2 separate regions of the Homo sapiens genome follow, and region 2 is linked to region 1. Evidence: promoter capture Hi-C in human tissues and cell types (Jung and others, 2019). All regions are on one chromosome and are shown on one strand. The core of a region is centred on a gene start or on the middle of the fragment in contact, and the rest is flanking DNA. Distances in the headings are between cores, read along the strand shown. Region 1 holds the start of GIPR (gastric inhibitory polypeptide receptor). Region 2 holds the start of TMEM160 (transmembrane protein 160).

Region 1 (6,404 bases), core at 3,905-6,404:
GACCACAGGCGCACCACCACCATGCCTGGCTAATTAAAAAAAAAAATGTTGAGAGGCCGGGCGCGGTGGCTCACGCCTGTAATCCCAGCACTTTGGAAAGCCGAGATGGGCAGATCACCTGCAGTCAGGAGTTCGAAACCAGCCATGGCTAACATGGTGAAACCCCATTTCTACTAAGAATACAAAAACTTAGCTGGGCATGGTGGTGCGCACCTGTAATCCCAGCTACTTGGGAGGCGGAGGCAGGAGAATCACTTGAACCCAGGAGGCAGATGTTGCCGTGAGCCGAGATCGTGCCATTGCACTCCAGCTTGGGCAACAAGAGCAAAACTCCATCTCAAAAAAAAAAAAAAATTGGCCAGGCGCAGTGGCTCATGCCTATAATCCCAGCACTGTGGGAGGCTGAGGCAGGCCAATCACCTGAAGTCAGGAGTTCAAGACCAGCCTGACCAATTTGGTGAAAACCCAACTCTGCTAAAAGTACAAAAAAAAAAAAATAGCCAGGCATGGTGGCAGGTGCCTGTAATCCCAGCCTCTCGGGAGGCTGAGGCAGGAGAATCACTTGAACCTGGCTCACTGCAATCTCTGCCCTAGCCTGGGCGACAGAGTGAAACTCTGTCTCAAAAAAAACAAAAATTTTGTTTTTAATTCTAGATGACGTGTTGATAGATGCAGCAAACCACCATGGCATATGCATACCTATGTAACAAACCTGTACGTTCAGCACATGTATCCCAGAACTTAAGGTAAATTTTTTTTTTTAATTGGAAAACTGAAAAAAAAAAATATTTTTTTTTTAGAGACGGGATCTGGCTATGTTGCCCAGGCTGGTCTCCAACTCCTGGGCTTAAGTGATCCTCCCATGTTGGCCTCCCAAAGTGCTGGGATTACAGGTGTAAGCCACCACACTAGGCTCTTAGCTCCTTTTCCTGTTTCACACCACCAGCTCATTTCCTCTCCACTGCTTCCCCCTCCCTGCCAGCCTCTCCCTTCCCCCTCTACAGCCTCCCCACCCCTCACTGCCTTCCTCTGTGGAGTGACCTCAGGCCCTCATTGGGGCCAAGGAGAGACTCCCTTCCAACCTAAACTTCTCCCAAGGTGCTGGGCAATCTCAGACCCCCTTCCCTCTCCACTCCAGGACAGGAGCCTTTCCCAGGACCCGGAGGGCACCAGGAATGTGGGGCAGAGAGCGGGGAGGCAGCCTAAGTCCAGGAAGCGAGAACCCTCGCCTCCCCCGAGACTTGTCTCCTTCCAGCCTCTGGTGCAGACCTCATGCCACCCCTTACTCCCTGTCCCTCCTGGGGCCTCTGGGCCTTAATTTCTCCTCTACAAAATGGGCAGACTCGCCTCTGTCCCACTTAGAGTCCCAGGGGAGTGCATGCTCACAAATGTCCATTGTATGATTAATGTGCAGGAATTGGAGTTTGTATTAACAGGAGATGAGAGCTGGGAGCTGGGACTGGGCTCTGAGCCTGTCCCCCACCCCCAGTCACGTACAGATGTTCCCCATATTTAGGGCAAAGGAACAGACTGGAAGTAGAGACAGCAGAGAATGTGTGTGATTCACTGGCGACTGTCATGATGAGACCATGTGAGGCTATGGGTTAGTGTGCAATTGTGACACGATGGTGTGTGTGACCCTGTGTGCACCTGTGTGACTGTGCGTGACTGTGGGAGGTGGGATTGCAGGGTGTGACAAGTCACTGTGACGTGCACAGCTATGGGACAGTGAGGTTGTGTGCGTGACATGTATATGACTGTATGTGACTTGTGAATATGGGTGAGACTAAGGGAGAGTTGTGAGTCTGTATGACCATGTCACTCAGTGTGACCGTGGGGGTGAGGGTGACGGTGTGAGAGTGTTTGCCTCATGACAGTTGGGGAATGTGTGTTGTTGGAATGTGACTGAGGACTCTGTGGGTGACTGTGAAGTGTGTGAGTGTGTGACGGTGTTAATGGGTGTGGTTGCATGACATTGTGTGTGACTTTCAGCTTGTGTCATAAAAAGACTGTATAATAAGACATTAAAAAAAAAAAAGGCCAGGCGCGGTGGCTCATGCCTGTAATCCCAGCACTTTGGGAGGCCGAGACGGGTGGATCACGAGATCAGGAGATCGAGACCATCCTGGCTAACACGGTGAAACCCCGTCTCTACTAAAAATACAAAAAATTAGCCGGGCATGGTGGCGGGCACCTGTACTCCCAGCTACTCGGGAGGCTGAAGCAGGAGAATGGCGTGAACCTGGGAGGCGAGGCTTGCAGTGAGCTGAGATCACGCCACTGCACTCCAGCCTGAGTGACACAGCAAGACTCTGTCTCAAAAAAAAAAAAGAGTCGGGCACAGTGGCTCATGCCTGTGATTCCAGCACTTTGGGAGGCTGAGGCAGGCAGATCACCTGAAGTCAGGAATTTGAGACCAGCCTGGCCAACATAGTGAAACCCCATCTCTTCTAAAAAAAAAAAAAAAAAAAAAAGCCAGCCACAGTGGCTCACGCCTGTAATCCCAGCACTTTGGGAGACTGAGGCGGGAGGATCACGAGGTCAGGAGTTCAAGACCAGCCTGGCCAACATGGTGAAAACTTGTCTCTACTAAAAATACAAAAATTAGCTGGGCATGGTGGCGCGTGCCTGTAATCCCAGCTACCCGGGAGGCTGAGGCAGGATAATTGCTTGAACCAGGACCCGGGAGGTGGAGATTGCAGTGAGCCAAGATCACGCCACTGTACTCCAGCCTGGGCTACAGAGGGAGACTCGGCCAAAAAAAAAAAAAAAATTATTAGCCGGGCATGGTTGCGGGCGCCTGTAATCCCAGCTACTTGGGAGGCTAAGACAGGAGAACTGCTTGAACCTGGGAAGCAGAGGTTCCAGTGAGCTGAGATCGTGCCACTGCACTCCAGCCTGGGCGACAGAGTGAGACTCCATCCCAAGAAAGAAAGAGAGAAAGGGAGAAAGGGAGGAAGGGAGGGGGGAGGGGAGAGGGGAGAGGGGAGAGGAAAAGGAAAGGAAAGTCCTTTGCAGCAACACAGATGCAGCTGGAGGCCAGTATCCTAAGTGAATTAACAAAGGAACAGAAATCCAAACACCAGATGCTCTTACTTATAAGTGGGAGCTGAGCACTGGGTACACATGGACACCAACATGCGAACAACAGACACTGGGGACTCCTAGAGGGGGCAGGGAAGGAGACAAGGGTTAAAAAACTACCCGTTGGGTGCCATGCTCACTACCTGGATGATGGGATCATTTATACCCCCAACCTCCGCATCGTGCAATACACCCCCGTGACAAACCTGCACATGTGCCCCCTGAATCTAAAATAAAAGTTAAGGCCAGGCGCGGTGGTTCATACCTGTAATCCCAGCACTTTGGGAGGCCAAGGCGGGAGGATCACTTGAGGCCAGGAGTTGGAGAACAATATGGCCAACATGGTGAAACCTCATCTCTACTAAAAATATAAAAATCAGCCAGGCGTGGTGGCATACACCTGTAGTCCCAGCTACTCTGGTGGTTGAGGCATGAGAATCGCCTGAACCCAAGAGGCAGAGGTTGCCAAGTTGGCGCCACTGCACTCCAGCCTGGGTGACAGAGTGAGACCCTGTCTAGAAAAAATAATAAATAAAATGAATTAAAATAAATGAATAAATAAATAAATAAAAGTTGAGGCTGGGTGTGATGGCACATCCCTGTAGTCCCAGCACTTTGGGAGGCCGAGGCAGGAGGATTGCTTGAGGCCAAGAGTTGGAGACCAGCATGGCCAACATGGTGAAACCCCATCTCTACTAAAAATACAAAAATTTTAGCTGGGTGTGGTGGCACACACCTGTAGTCCCAGCTACTCGGGAGGCTGAGGCAGGAGAATCTCCTGAACCCTGGAGGCGGAGGTTGAAGTGAGCCAAGATGGCGCCACTGCACTCCATCCTGGGTGACAGAGTGAGACCCTGTCTCAAAAAAAAAAAAGTTGAAATTATTTTTTAATAAAATGGTGGGGCATGGTGGCTCATGCCCATAGTCCCAGCTAGTCAAGAGGCTGAGTTAAGAGGATCCCTTGAGCCCAGGAAGTGGAGGCTGCAGTGAGCTATAATTGTTCCAGTGCACTCCACTCTCATAAATAAATAAATAAATAAAATGTAAAAAGGATTGTATGGGCCGGGTGTGGTGGCTGTCGCCTGTAATCCCACCACTTTGGAAGGCCAAGACATGTGGAACACCTGAGGTCAGGAGTTTGAGACCAGCCTGGGCAACATGGTGAAACACCGTCTCTACTAAAAATACAAAAATTAGTCGGTTGTGGTGGTGTGTGCCTGGAATCCCAGCTACTTGGGAGGCTGCGGTGGGAGAATTGCTTGAACCCAGGAGGCGGAGGTTGCAGTGAGCTGAGATCATGCTTCTGTACTCCAGCCTCAGCAACAGAGGAAGACTCTGTCTCAAAAAAAAAAAATTCTATGTCTGCGAGTAACCACACAACTGCATACTGCGTATATTTATTTCATGACAATCCTTCCTTGAACCCCTGCTCTTAACGATTTTGGGGACCCAGTGGTGACCCAGATGTCCTGGCTCTACCCTCCTGGGCCACACAGGCTAGCAGGGCAACAGTGTTTGTGATGAAACCCGGTGATTGCGTGAATGTGTGGGTGATTGACAGTGTTGTTGGAACTGTGAGACACTGTGAGCGTTACTGTGTGTGTGCAGGAGTCCATAGCCCTGGGTACATGACTGTGTGTCACAGTGGATGACTGTCCACCTGTGAGTGAGAGACTGTGGCTGTCTGGGTGTGACCATGGGACTGTATGGGTGTGACTGAATGTGTGACTGTGTGAGTAACAGCTTGTGAGGTTCTGTGACTGTGCCTTTCCATGGCTCAGCCTATGGGATTGTGTGTGACACTGCATGTTTGATTGAGTGACTGAGGCTCTGGGAATGAGTGGCGGTGGGGGCGGGTACCTGTGGGTGGGACAGCATGAGAGATTGTACACACTTGGTGCAGGGGTCCTCAGGACGATAAGGACAATTCAGTAACTGCCCTCCCTCATGACCTTGATGACTGCCCCCTGCTCGGCTCTCTGCCCCAGAGCTCCCCGCTTCCGTTCCCTGTCCCGCCTTGGCCCCGCCCCCTCCCATCACCCCGGGCTGCCAGCGCCTGTCACCTCTCCCAGAGCCGAGACAAGGCAGTTGGAGGCAGCGGTGGCAGGGGCTGCAGGAGCAAGTGACCAGGAGCAGGACTGGGGACAGGTGAGGGCTCCCCAATCCCAGCCCATTCTCCCTGCCCCCCCTTGACCTCTCAAGTCTCTGGCACTCTCCCTCTCTGCTTCTCTGCCCTGCCTTTGTCTCTCTGTCTCTGTGCCCACCACCATCTCTGCTCATCTCTGTCTCTTGATGTCTCTGTCTGCGTGTTTCCATCTCTGGTTAGCTGCTAGATAACTTCTCTTTCCCCTGCTCTGTCTCCCTCCACGTCTCTGCCTCTTCTTTGTCTCCTAGCCCACATCTGCGTCTCTTTCTCTGTTTGTTTTTCTCTGGTCTCTGGCTGGGGGTCTCATTCTGTCCCTCCGTCTCTGCGCCTCTCAGTCTTTACATTTCTGTCTCTTGTGTCTGTGACGCCGTTGTCTGTCCTTCTGAGGCTCGACCTGAGATCCTCTCTGCTTCCGTCTTTCTCTACGTGGAGCCGCGGGGGCGCGGGTGAGTGGGTGTCGGGCGTTAGACCGATTTCCAGGCATCTGCACATCTAACCCCGGATCTGTCGCTTCTCTAGTCCCTAAGTATTTGGATGCTGGGAAAGGGTTGTTCCACTTACTCTGGGCTTTATCTACCCCCAGCGGGGAAAGTTTTGTAAGGTCAGGTTCCTATGTGTGCTAGAAAACCCTTTGGGCTTGGAGAGTGGGAGCTCGGATGGGCGTTTCAAGTTCTCCACCAGGCTGTGGGAACTCAGATGGGCGTTTCAAGTACCCCACTAGGGGGTACTGAAAACCTTCAAGTTTTTCAGTTCCCCATAGAAAAGGGGTCTAGGCTGACGGTTTCTACCCCCTCCTCTCCAAGGCGGTCCCCGGGTTCCCAGGAGTCTGTAGGTCCAGACTTCGGTGACACTGACACTTCCGCCCAGCGTAGCTCTAGGGCAACCGCCCGCTCAGCAAACACCCCCCCCTTCCACCTTTGCTGCCCCAACAACAGTCAGGGGAGGCCGGGGAATCACTTAAGGGGCCCCGCCCACCACCGGAGTTCCACCCACTCCGCGTGCCTCTCCCTCCCCCCAGATCATCACGCCTGGGAGTTGCGGGAGCGGGTGCGCTGCCTCGGAGTCCCGCGTGTATACGGCTCCCCAGCCGTCTGCCCCTGTGTGTGAATCCCTGAGGCGGGGTGACGCTGGGGTTGGAGTAGGAGGGCAGAGGTGCTGACCTTGCCCTGGGACC
Region 2 (6,404 bases), core at 1,012-3,511, 1.4 Mb after region 1:
CATCTTTGAGAATCAGATCGGAGGGGAGGGGACCATAACCATGTCCTGGGCCACCCATTCAGATGGACCTAGTGCCTATGGGAGGGGTGTCTTCTGGTGGGGGAAGAATGGGGGTTCTATACTTACTACTGGGAGTGGGATGGGGTAGGAGAGTCTACTCTCACCAGGGCAGGTGATAGGGGCTCTGCATTCCCTGGTTCCGTGGGGCGAGAGGGGGGGTCTGCACTCACCATATGCTGCTTCCCGACCCATGTCACTCTGCATGAAGGAGATGACCCCGATGCCCGATGCCAGGAGGCCATTGCGGAACCAGGAGAGGAAGGCTGGAGGGAGGGGGACATGGGGGGATTAACATCACCCCCAACCCTACCTCCTCAATCCCCCTTACCCAGTCAAACTGAGGGGCCTCCCTTCAGCTCACCCCATCCCATCCAGCCGCAAGGCAAGCCCATCCCAAATCCTCACCTCTTCCAGGAAGCCGCTCACCTAACCATATCCCCCCACATCCTCTCTGGCCTCCACCTCAGTGCCCCTCTCCCCCAAACTCTGTAACACTAAGGATTCAAGGGCCGGGTGTGGTGGCTCACCCCTGTAATCCCAGCACTTTGGGAGGCCAAGGCAGGCGGATCATGAGGTCAGGAGTTTGAGACCAGCCTGGCCAACATAGTCAAACCCTGTCTCTACTAAAAATGTTAAAATTAGCAGGGTGTGGTAGCACGTGCTTGTAGTCCCAGCTACTCAGGAAGCTGAGGGAGGAGAATCACTTGAATCCAGGAGGTAGAGGTTGCAGCGAGCCAAGATCATGCCACTGCACTCCAGCCTGGGCGACAGAGTGAGACTCCGTCTCAAAAAAAATAAAGGATTCAAGATAGTCCCTGCAGAATGTGGAGGACAATCTAGGGGCAAAGTTGCAGAACCTCCATCTGAGGAGTCATCTTGGCCAAACCCCTCCCTCTACGTGTACCCCCACGGCCTGCCCACTCACTTCTTTCTCAGAACTCTGGGACAAACTGTTTCCTAATCCAGGCCGCTCTTCAGCCTCGCCCTTCTTTTCCTTCAAATGCCGCCATCTCCTACCGAGTATGGCCTGGGCCAATCCCATCCATGTCCTACCGAGTATGGCCTGGGCCAATCCCACCCACGTCCGTCCCCATTCACGTCCTTTACAAACAGCCCACCACACCCTATATCTAGATGCCCGGTCCTGGCCTAGTGAGGTGACTCACACCTATAATCCCAGCACTTTGGGAAGCCAAGGCAGGAGGATTCTCTGAGCCCAAGAGTTCAGACCAGCCTGGGCAACAAAGCAAGACCCCGTCTCTACATAAATTAAAATAGTTGGGTGCGGTGGTGTATGCCTGTAGCTCCAGCTAAGCAGGAGGCTGAGGCAAGAGGATAGCTTGAGCCCAGGAGTTCAAGGCTGCAGTGGGCTACGATTGCGCCACTGCGGTCCAGCCTCGGTGACAGAGCAAGACACCGTCATTAAAAAAATAAAATTAAAAAAAAAACAAACATGGCCAGTCCGCTCCATTCTGGACCTCGCCTCCGTCACAAGCCCCGCCCTCTGCAGCCTAGATCACCTCCCCCTCCAATCAGCAGAGAGCTTTCTCCCGATTGGTTGTCCCCTTCTCCAATCCTGAACTTCCCCCTCTTCTGCGGGGATCCACACTCCCGCTCTCTGCACAGTGGTGGCCTCTGCAATCGGGATGGACCCATCTTGTACCCAACTCCACAGACCCTAAGCTCTCCCTGAAGCCCCTCTCCCCACGGCAGGCGCGATTCTACGAGGCTGCCTCGCGCAACCCTACCACCCCCTCCAATCCCTACGGCGCCCCGTTACCCGGGGTCCTCGTCCTCCCCGCAAGCCCATCCCCTCTGCGGGCACCTGCGCTCTTGCAGTCTGCGCTTCCGTGCGCTCACACTGAAGCCCTTCTCGGAGCCGAGCCCGGGCCCCGTTTCCTGCAGAAGCCCCCGCCCCATCAAGGTCCCACGCGAGCCCGGGACCCCCGTCCCATCCGCACCGCCCCCACCCCTAGCCACCGACCTGTCTCGTGCGCTTTTCGGAGGAGCCAGGCGTCCGCACGATCCAGCTCGGACACTGGGGGCGGCGAAGCCCCGGCGCGGGGACCGTGGCCGGGGGCGAAGGACCCCCGGGCGCCCCCGCTCCGGGGCCGCTGAGGCGGCAGTAGCGACCTCCGGAAGCGAAGACGGGCAAGGCGAGCGGCCCGAGCCCACCACCAGCCGCCTCCCATGATTCGCACTACGGCCGCCGCGCGCCGTACCGCCCCACCGGCCTCCGGTAGGTTGCAACCCATGTCACTCAGGATGAATGGCTTACCCATTGGCTATGCGCTCGCCACTCAGGTCCGGCGTGAACTGTCCATTGGTCGGAATGGCAGTGATTCCCTCCTCTGTCATCTAGGCCGGTAGTGCCCGTCCCTCCTTGATTTTGTACCGGACTACGAATCCCAGCGATCATTGCGCTCGGGGAAAGCCGATATTCAGAAGTCGCAGGCGAGATGTCTGCTGGGAATTGTAGTTTTAATTCTATCTTTTTTAACGGAGTACATGCCGAGCACCTATTGTAGTTGTTTCTTGGTTGTTTCTCTTTCTTTCTTTCTCTTTCTTTCTTTCTTTCTTTTTCTTTCTTTCTCTTTCTTTCTTTCCTTCTTTCTTTCTTTCTCTCTTTCTTTTTCCCTCCCTCCCTCCCTTCCCTCCCCTCCTTCCTTCCTTCCCTCCTTCCTTTTTTTTCCCCGCCCCGAGACCGAGTCTTGCTCTGTCGCCCAGGCTGGAGTGCAGTGGTGCGATCTCGGCTCACTGCAACCTCCACCTCCCGGGTTCAAGCGATTCTCCTGCGTCAGCCTCCTGAGTAGCTGGGATTATAGGCATGCGCCACCACGCCCAGCTAATTTTTGTATCTTTAGTAGAGACAGGGTTTCACCATGTTGGCCAGGCTGGTCTCGAACTCCTGACCTCAAGTGATCCAACCGCCTCGGCCTCCAAAAGTGCTGGGATTACAGGCGTGAGCCACCGTGCCCGGCCAGGTCTGTCTCTTTAAGACAGATTTGTTTTCTTTGCCCTAACCCATTCCGGGATTCAGCTTTGCCTTCTCTCATCAGCATAAACCTTTTCACTAGCCAGGAATGTGAAAAATGTGTCTGGAATATTTTCAATTTGCACTTAATCCCATTTAAAGCTTCACATTCATTGCAAGCCTGCAGGCTATGCAGTGCAGTCCATTTGAACTCCCTCCTCAAGTGTAACCCCCTTGCTAGCTCCCCTACTTTTCCTCTTCATAAAATCCAAGCCCGGGCCAGGCACGGTGGCTCACATCTGTAATCCCACCACTTTGGGAGTCTGAGGCGGGCAGATCACGAGATCAGGAGTTCGAGACCAGCCTGACCAACATGGTGAAACCCCATCTCTACTAAAAATACAAAAATTAGGCATGGTGGCAGGCACCTGTAATCCCAGCTACTTGTGAGGCTGAGGCAGGAGAATCGTTTCATGCGCGTCCATGTGAAGAGACCACCAAACAGGCTTTGTGTGAGCAAGATGGCTGTTTATTTCACCTGGCTGCAGGCAGGCTGAGTCCGAAAAGAGAGTCAGCAAAGGGTGGTGGATTATCATTAGTTCTTAGAGGTTTTGGGATAGGCGGTGAAGTTAAGAGCAATGTTTTGCGGGCAGGGGTGGATCTCACACAGTACATTCTCAAGGGTGGGGAGAATTACAAAGAACCTTCTTAAGGGTGGGGGAGATTACAAAGTACATTGATCAGTTAGGTGGGGCAGGAACAAATCACAATGGTGGAATGTCATCAGTTAAGGCTATTTTTACTTCTTTTGTGGATCTTCAGTTACTTCAGGCCATCTGGATGTATACGTGCAAGTCACAGGTGATGCGATGGCTTGGCTTGGGCTCAGAGGCCTGACATTTCTGCCTTCTTTTATTAATAAGAAAAATAAAACAAAATAGTGTTGAAGTCTTGGGGGGTGGTATGGAGAGAGAATGGGCGATGTTTCTCGGGGCTGCTTCAAGCAGGATTAGGGGCGGCGTGCGAACCTAAAGTGGGAGAGATTAAGCTGAAGGAAGATTTTGTGGTAAGGGGTGATATTGTGGGGTTGTTAGAAGAAACATTTGTTGTGTAGAAGTATTGGTGATGGCCTGGGTACAGTTTTGTATGAATTGAAAAACTAAATGGAATAAGAGAAGGAGAAAAACAGGTATAAAAGGTCTAAGAATTGGGAGGACCTAGGACATCTGATTAGAGAGTGCCTAAGGAGATTCAGCATAGTCCTGCCAGCAAAGATTATTTGTTTACTTCAGGAGTTAAGAGTGGCAGTTTGGGGATAGCATGAGGAGATATCAGCTGTGATGGCTTGGAGAAACAGTGTAAACCAGCAGTGTAAACAAGAGCAGGGCACGTATGAGTAGTTGAGAACGGAGAATAGGAGTATGACTAGACAGAAAATAGTAGGGATGACAAGTTTTTTTGGGGCACAGTCTAAGTTGGTCCGGTGTCTGGAATGAGACTGGGGCCTAATAAAAAGGATTGTCCATACAGGAGCTCAAATAGGCTGTACCCTGCAGCATTCTGAGAAGCAAAAGAGGTAAAAGTATTGTCCAGTCCTTTTTAAGTTGGTGGCTGAGCTTGGTGAGGTGTGTTTTTAAAAGACCTTTAGTCCGTTCTACTTTTCTTGAAGACAGAGGACCGTAAGGGATATAAAGGTTTCACTGAATACTAAGAGCCTGAAAAACTGCTTGGCTGATTTGACTAATAAAGGCTGGTCTGTTATCAGACTGTATAGAGGTGGGAAGGCTAAACTGAGGAATTATGTCTGACAGAAGGGAAGAAATGACTGCGGTGGCCTTCTCAGACCTTGTAGAAAAGGCCTGTACCTATCCAGTGAAAGTGTCTGCCTAGACTAAGAGGTATTTTGGTTTCCTGACTCGGGGCATGTTGAGTAAAGCTAATTTGCCAGTCCTGGGTGGGGGCAAATCCCTGAGCTTGATGTGTAGGGAAGGGAGGGGGCCTGAATAATCCCTGAGGAGTAGTAGAACAGCAGATGGAACACTGAGAAGTGATTTCCTTGAGGACAGATTTCCACGATGGAAAGGAAATGAGAGGTTCTAAGAGGCGGGCTCATGGCTTGTACTATAGCATAGCCTGCCTTTGCTGGTGTGTGGCGATTAGGCCTGGTGGAACTGCCATCAATAAATCAAGCGTGATCAGAGTGAGGAACAGGAAAGAAGGAAATATGGGGAAATGGGGTGAATATCAGGTGGATCAGAGAGATACAGTCATGGGGGTCAGGTGTGGTATCAGGAATAATGTGGGAGGCCAGATTGAAGTCCGGGCCAGGAACAATGGTAATTGTGGGACTTAAGAGTGAGTGCAGCTGAAGGAGCCGGGGAGCAGAAAGTACATGCGTCAGGTATGAGGAAGAAAATAGATTTTGGAAGTTATGAGAAATGTAGAGAGTGAGTTGAGCATAGTTTGTGATTTTTAGGGCTCTAAAAGTATTAAAGCAGCGGCAGCCGCTGCATGCAGACATGAGGGCTAGGCTAAAACAGTAAGGTCAAGTTGTTTGGACAGAAAGGCTACAGGGTGCGGTCCTGGCTCTTGTGTAAGAATTCTGACCACACTAACCATGCCTAGGAAGGAAAGGAGTTGTTTTGTAAGGGATTGAGGTTTGGGAGATTAATTGGACACGATCAGCAGGGAGAGCACGTGTGTTTTTATGAAGAATTATGCTGAGATAGGTAACAGATGAGGATGAAATTTGGGCTTGACTGAAGTAATGGGGGCTGTCTGTGAAGCCTTGCGGCAGTACAGCCCAGGTAATTTGCTGAGCCTAATGGGTGTCAGGGTCAGTCCAAGTGAAAGCGAAGAGAGGCTGGGATGACGGGTGCAAAGGAATAGTAAAGAAAGCATGTTTGAGATCCAGAACAGAATAATGGGTTGTGGAGGGAGGTATTGAGGATAGGAGAGTATATGGGTTTGGCACCATGGGGTGGATAGGCAAAACAATTTGGTTGATAAGGCACAGATCCTGAACTAACTTGTAAGGCTTGTCTGGTTTTAGGACAGGTAAAATGGGGGAATTGTAAGGAGAGTTTATAGGCTTAAAAGGCCTTACCCATTGAGCAGGGTAAGGGTGATTAGGTTTTAATGAGATGGTAAGGGGTGCATGATCGGTTGCCAAGGAAGGAGTAGAGGTATCTTATACTTGTGGGTTAAGGTGGGGGAATACAAGAGGAGGACGCAAAGGAGGCTTTGGATTGGGAAGAAGGGCAGCAATGAGATGTAGCTGTAATCCAGGAATAGTCAGGGAAGCAGATGATTTAGTTAAAGTGTCTCGGCCTAATAAGGGAACTGGGCAGGTGGAGATAACTAAAAGGAG

What was found. The method cuts DNA at HindIII sites, captures the fragments that hold promoters and counts their contacts. A contact is called where the count stands out against the background at its distance.
Region 2: the fragment with the promoter of TMEM160 here is called in contact with the fragment with the promoter of GIPR in region 1 in 1 of the 25 tissues and cell types used here (heart left ventricle).

Annotation. Positions count from the first base shown.
Region 1 is chr19:45,663,067-45,669,470 of GRCh38, forward strand. It overlaps GIPR (gastric inhibitory polypeptide receptor), which reads left to right and starts at 5,155. Exons shown (of 14, transcript NM_000164.4): 1 at 5,155-5,232. RefSeq lists a silencer at 5,040-5,199 and an enhancer at 5,580-5,859. The HindIII fragment of the contact is 19,339 bases long and covers 1-6,404 here.
Region 2 is chr19:47,046,363-47,052,766 of GRCh38, forward strand. TMEM160 (transmembrane protein 160) reads right to left here and starts at 2,262. Exons shown (of 3, transcript NM_017854.2): 1 at 2,045-2,262; 2 at 231-323. The coding sequence starts at 2,252. RefSeq lists enhancers at 1,690-1,759, 2,269-2,563, 2,687-3,204, 3,205-3,722 and a silencer at 2,040-2,229. The HindIII fragment of the contact is 17,900 bases long and covers 1-6,404 here.